Linked DNA regions of Homo sapiens: region 1 is linked to region 2. Evidence: promoter capture Hi-C in 16 types of primary human blood cells and fetal thymus (Javierre and others, 2016). All regions are on one chromosome and are shown on one strand. The core of a region is centred on a gene start or on the middle of the fragment in contact, and the rest is flanking DNA. Distances in the headings are between cores, read along the strand shown.

Region 1 (2,971 bases), core at 149-2,648, 260 kb after region 2:
TATGAGCCTGTCTGTGCCCTCTGCAGCAGCTCACCTGGCCTCCAGGGCTCCCGAGGGTGCAGACCTGGCTCTGCCCATGCTCTGGGTGGATGGTTGAGGGAGATCAAGGAGCTGGGCACCGGCCTGGGCACTCAGGGGCTCGGGATTCTAATCTGGCTTTTGCCACTAACTCGCTATGCGACCTTGGGCAAGTCAATTAATCTTTCTCAGCCTTGTTTCCTCATCTGTATGAGTGAGAATAATGATTACTAATCTACCTTGCAGGCCACTTGGTGGAATAACTTGTAAGAGCTATTGGTAAAGACTTTGAGAAAGAGAATGTTAAATTAACGCAGGGGAGCAGATACCCTGAAACCTCTGGCATGTGGTTCTGATCCCACCAGTTCCTGCCTTTTCACAGTTCACTGGGCTCTGCCCACTGTGTGCTTTTCAATGCTGTTGGGAGATATAAGTTGGGGCTTCTCAGCCTCTAGGCATCCTAGCTTCTCAGAGATAGCATCTGTGTATTCTTCATGTCAGTGGAGAAAGAGATAGGTGACGAACTGCTCATTTGTTATGTGTAGAGCTACATCCTAGCCCTGCCTGACTTTTCTCTGATGTCTCATTAAGTCCACATAGGAGAGACCCTTAAATTCAAATAGTAGCTTTGAGCCCTTTCCTAATTTTCTATCACTCGACTCTCATATTCTCCCCAGTTAGTTTCAAAAAACAAACTAACCACAAACTGCATTGAGCGGGGAGAAGGGAGAATGTGTAGAAAAACAGGAGGAGCCTGCCTCCCCCTGGACGCGTTGCATTGGACTGATGCAAAAACACAGTGAGGCCAGGGAACACGGATCTCACATCTCTCAGGGGAGTCTGGTATTAGGGAGGAGTGGGGAGAGGCACCCATGCCAGTAGAAATCCTGTTCTGCTGTTTTCTAAGCAGGCCCCTGAGTTCTCTTCTCACTTCCTGGAGCTCCTCCCAGGACTTCAAAGGCAGATACAGTCCTGGTGGACTGTGGTGAGCTTGTACGGAAGCTCAGCCCCAGCACACTGCAAATCAGCCTTCTGCTGGAGATTAAAGCAAGAGAGGCTAGCCAGCTGTTAGCTCAGAGACAGCAACCACTGTGTACCAGGAAGAATCCAAGCTGGGTGAATGTACAGTCCTACCCTTGGAGGTAGCTTTCCCAAATTGAATGACCAGCCTTCCGGGCTTGCTTGGGACTTTCCTGGTTTTACCACTGAAAGTCTGGTGTCCCAGGAATCCCCTTAGTCCTGGGCAAACTGAGATGGTGAGTTGCCCTATTACCGGACCTAAGCTTTAGTAAAAGTTTCTGAATCAAGAGTTTGATTTCTCCATAGCAAACATGAGCTGGAACCAATTATTTTGTCTCTTTGACAAGAAAGTGAAAGTCCAAGGCTTAAAAACTGGCAGATCGTAACTTACCACTAGTGATACACACCAGTATGCTAAGTGAAAGAAGCATACTGCTATTCAAGATTCAAAAGCTTGCACACTGAATGATTCTATTTATATGACTTTCTGGAAAAGGCAAAACTATAGGGAAACAGATCAGTAGTTGCCAGGACTGGGACTGGGGGAAGGCGTGAGCCACAAAGGGCGTGAGGGAAATTTTTGGAATGATAGAGATGTTCAGTATCTTCATTTTGGTAGTGGTTACACAGCCATACATACTTGTCACAATTCAGAACTGTGTAGTTAAAAGGGCTTTTTTTTTTTCTGTGTGTAAATTAACCTCAATAAAGCTGACTTTTAAAAACACTCTAGCAGTTGTGATGCTGTGGTATAAGATGAAGGTTCAAGGTCAAGGTTGGGTATCATGGGTTGTAATTAGCAACTGAGTCTTGGTGTGGGTGTGTCTGCAATGGTTCTGGAGGTGTATGCAGCAGAAAAGGGTGAGAAATTTGGTACAAAACAAAAAGGCCAAGGGCTCATGCCTGATGACATCCTAAATGCCAGAGACTTTTTCATTAGGCACAATCAGTGTGATAGTGGAAGCTCTCCCTCTGTTTAGAGAAAAGGCAAAAGCAGCTCCCCTAAAGGCCAGGCAGCCAACAAGCCCAGGAGGACCATGGAATATAAGAGCATTAGACTCAGGTTCCCACCCTGGGAACTCTGCTGCTACCCACACATGGATCTAATGTACTGGCTTTGGCAGCCTGTCTGCAAGTCTTTTTTTTCTACCAATAAAGTTATTGTATTAGAATTGAGTAATCAAGTCTGCAGGATAATTATTTCCTGGTTGACTTTTTGTTTTTGGCAGTCCTGCTTGTCTATGCTAGCTAGGATTGATTTTGAGGGGAAGAACCCATGATTTATCGAAATAACACACCCAGTCGCATTTGATGTAAAGAATCAGTCCTCTTATTTCTAGACAAGGAGAAGCCTTCTGATGCAAGGGCAGAATTACCAGTCGTCACTGCACCAGGCCAGCGGACAGGATGTGGAAGTCCCCAAGAAGGAAGAAGTATCACTCTGGGTGATCTGAATGGACTCTTAAGATCTTGGTGTTTTCCTTTTTATTTATTTATTTGTTTTTTAATCAAAGCCCATGTTGAATTTGCCTGTTCTTCAGGTGAATTTTGTCTGGCTCTGTACCCTGGGAAGCTGGGTCTGTGTCTGCATCTCTATTAAGCACAGCCTGTTGGAAGGCTGTGGAACTTCCATCCGTGAGGACTACATGGGCTGAGGTCATGTTCAACCATGAATTATACAGGAGAATTTCCCACATGCAACTTTTTAAAATCACAAACACATCCAAGCCACTAGTCACCCACAAAGGCAGGTCTCTTCCACCTGTTCCAGGGTTTTCTGGAAGAATTACAGACTCATAGCCAGTGCAATCCTTAGTTCTAATTGTCTTAGTTTTGTTGGGGGAAAGCATTGATGTTAGAGAGGCAGGCAGTGTTTTTGTGCATATTTGAAGTGAAATTTCCCTGATGCAGGGTCAGGCCTGGCTTGTGGCTG
Region 2 (3,195 bases), core at 653-3,152:
GGTTGGTGTTGGGCTTAATTCCCAGAATTTTGGAGCAGAAATTTTGAGGTGTGACTTCAGTAGTGGTAGAAGTCCCATGTTCCCACTTTCCCCAAGTCCACCTCAGTCTGAGTGCCTCTAGACAGCGTCTGTTTCTTCCATTCCCACCGTGCTTCACATTGGCATAGAATAATTCTAGCAAATTGGAATTCTCAGGTTCTTGAATTGTGTTGCCAATAGATTAGGAACTTGTAACAAAAGAAGCAAGAATTTCCTTTCTCTGCTTCATCTGCCTGGGGCCTTTGTGGAAGGACCCGACTATTGGATAGGAAGAGTCAGCATGGGAGGCAGAAGACCCGGCTCCACCCTAGGCTCTCTGCATTGTCCTGAGAAAGTCACATCTTCTCTGAGACTCACCTTCCTCATCTTAAAGGCTGGCGTAGATCAGTGCTTCCTGAGTGCTGGCACTAGTCTGGGAGAATGTTTAGAAATGTAAATGATGAGTTAATGGGTGCAGCACACCAACATGGCACATGTATGCATATGTACCTGCACATTGTGCACATGTATCCTAGAACTTAAAGTATAAAAAAAGAAAAGAAATGTAAGTTCCTGACCTTTACGTGCAAGAATCCCGTATATATATATTTTGTATTTTTCAAAAGTTCTACAGATTTTTTGTTTTGAGACAGAGTCTTGCCCGGTCACCTAGGAGTACAGTGGCACAATCATAGCTCACTGTAACCTCAAACTCCTGGACTCAACCAATCCTCCTGCCTCAGCCTCCCGAGTAGCTGGGACTACAGATGCATGACACCACACTTGGCCAATGTTTTAATTTTTTTTTTTTTTTCTGTAGAGACAGAGTCTTGCTATGTTGCCAGGGCTGGTCTCGAAGTGGCCTCAAGCAATCCTCCCACCTCAGCCTCCCAAAGTGCTAGGATTACAGACGTGAGCAACCGCACCTGCAGATGGTTCTTATGCACAGCAATATTTGGGAACTACTGGACTAGATTACCTTTGATGGCCTTGTCAGCTCTATAATTCTATTCTAGGGTTTTAATGAAAAGGAATTTATATTAGAACATAATAGCCCAATGACAGGAGAAGGAGTGTGAGTTTATTCATTTTGACTTGGGACTTTTGTATGGTTGTAGACGGTCACATTTTGTACTGCATCTTACTGTGTGGATGTTAAAGAGTAAATGATAATTACTGGGGTTGTCCTTTTTATATCAATACACTAATTCCATGAAGGTCCTTCTAGCTTGTAACTTTGTGTAAAGCTGAAGCTACCTACATGTTAATTCTGTCTCCATCATATGATTCTGCCATCACAGAAAACCCATGAAACATTACGACAGTAAACATTGGCTTAATGGAATGAGGCAGAAGGATTTTCCTGGTACTGAGGGGAGGGGTCCCCTTCTAGAAAATGGAAAGGAAATGATCGTTTACTATGGCTGAGAGCTGGATTTGTCACGAATTGAAGCTGAGGATCTTTATCGAGCCTTCCCCACCTCCACCTGTGAGATCTGAAATACTGGAAAACTTGGAATTATTACCCTGGGATTTTTCTGATAGACATTTTTAGATTATATAAAATATGTGTATATATCCCTAGCCCTATTCTCAGTACTCTTACCAGATGATACTGAATATTCTAGGAGTATTTGCAGGAGAATTCTTTTAGATATTGCAGTTATATTCTTTCTCTTATTCTGGATATTAATCTGATTTTCAAATATGCATTCATGTCTGAGACTGAAAGTCTCGAGTTCCTGGTAGTGGCTGTTTTTATACCTAGTCATCTGACTGAGAATATGGTGCCCTAAGCTCTTGAGGGTAATCACTTAAATACATCTCCCTTAATCTTCTTTGCTGGGCAGTGAGAAAAGGAGACAGTAAGGAGCCAGGGGAACAGAGAGAATTGTGGGGCAGCACCGCTCCTTGGGTCCCCACTCCCCATTTCTCATTGCTTGGAAATCCATGCCAAGATGCCTGCCTTCCTTGGTCTAAAGTGTCTGGGGAAATTGTGCAGCTCTGAGAAAAGCAAAGTCACCTCATCTGAGAGAACCAGTGCCAGGGGCTCGAACAGAAAGAGACTGATTGTTGAGGACCGGAGGGTCTCTGGGACCTCCTTCACCGCTCATAGGCGTGCCACTATCACTCATTTGCTGTATCTCTGTCCCAAGGACTACTGCCCACGTGGGCGTGTATGTAACAGCGTTGATCCTTTTGGTAAGTAAAATAACCCTCTCTGGACATGGTTTTGTGTTTTGTGATTGGCGTAATTAAGAGAGTACTATCCAGATCATTCTTCTGTAATGTGTTCTTCAAAGGAAACACTATCCTTAATATATAATTAATGGGGGTGAGGGTGGGAGAGATGGAGAATGTAACATAAGTGTAGCTACGGAGCTAAATCCCAAGGATATTTTTGTCCAGGATTTTATGATCTTCAGTAACAAATGTATCTCTTTCCAAACTTGGTATGAATAATTGTCAGTAATAGGAAGTATGATGGAAAAGAAAGATCTCTATCTGTAGATGTTATTATTTCATATGACAAAGGATGAATGGAAAGGAAATATTCAAGGGGGGAGATGGAGGCTAGCAAAAGATAAGTAAAGTTGAGGTCCAAATTGTGTCACTGTGTAGGGAGGGCTCGTCTTGTGAAATGTTCTAAAAAAGAAATAAAATAAAAAGAAAGTGTTTTAATATTGAGAGAACTTGTTGAGGCTTCTTTTCAGTGAAGCTCATTAAAACGTGTCACTCATCCCTCTGCCTGGGAAAGAGGTGGAGAAGGCCCACTCTGAGGATAGAGTTATTGCACTTGGGAGTTTTCAGACTTTGAAGTTATCATGGTGCCTTTGTTAATGAAGATGATACCTACCCAACTGCTCACACCTTGTCAAAGTCAGACCTAGAATTGGTACAGGAAGCAGAAGGCAATTAACCATGGTCCCTACGAATGTATGAAGTTAAGTCAAATAAGCCAGGAAGCATAACGCATTCCTCGTCATTCTTGGACAGCCAGAGTTGAATTGGATTCAGTTTAGCTGAAGTACTGGAGTTAAGATGTTCTGTTTTGTTGCAATCAGCTTTCAACAGCTTTATTGAGTTATAATTCATATGCTGTAAAATTCATCCATTTAAAGTCTATAGTTCAGCGAGTTTTAGTATGCAACTGATATGTTACATATATATTTTCAT

Evidence for each region. Contacts are between HindIII fragments. The CHiCAGO score rates a contact against its expected background, and 5 or more counts as called.
Region 1: a fragment that was not itself captured here is called in contact with the fragment with the promoter of ABLIM1 in region 2 in 1 of 17 cell types (non-activated CD4 T cells); the score reaches 6.3 in non-activated CD4 T cells.

What each region holds. Positions count from the first base shown.
Region 1 is chr10:114,395,875-114,398,845 of GRCh38, reverse strand. All of the region lies in intron 1 of AFAP1L2 (actin filament associated protein 1 like 2), which reads left to right. Among named protein-coding and RNA genes, the nearest start is that of AFAP1L2, 7.1 kb to the left of the region's middle. The HindIII fragment of the contact is 190 bases long and covers 1,304-1,493 here.
Region 2 is chr10:114,656,982-114,660,176 of GRCh38, reverse strand. ABLIM1 (actin binding LIM protein 1) reads left to right here and starts at 1,902. Exons shown (of 23, transcript NM_002313.7): 1 at 1,902-2,220. The coding sequence starts at 1,977. The HindIII fragment of the contact is 14,035 bases long and covers 1-3,195 here.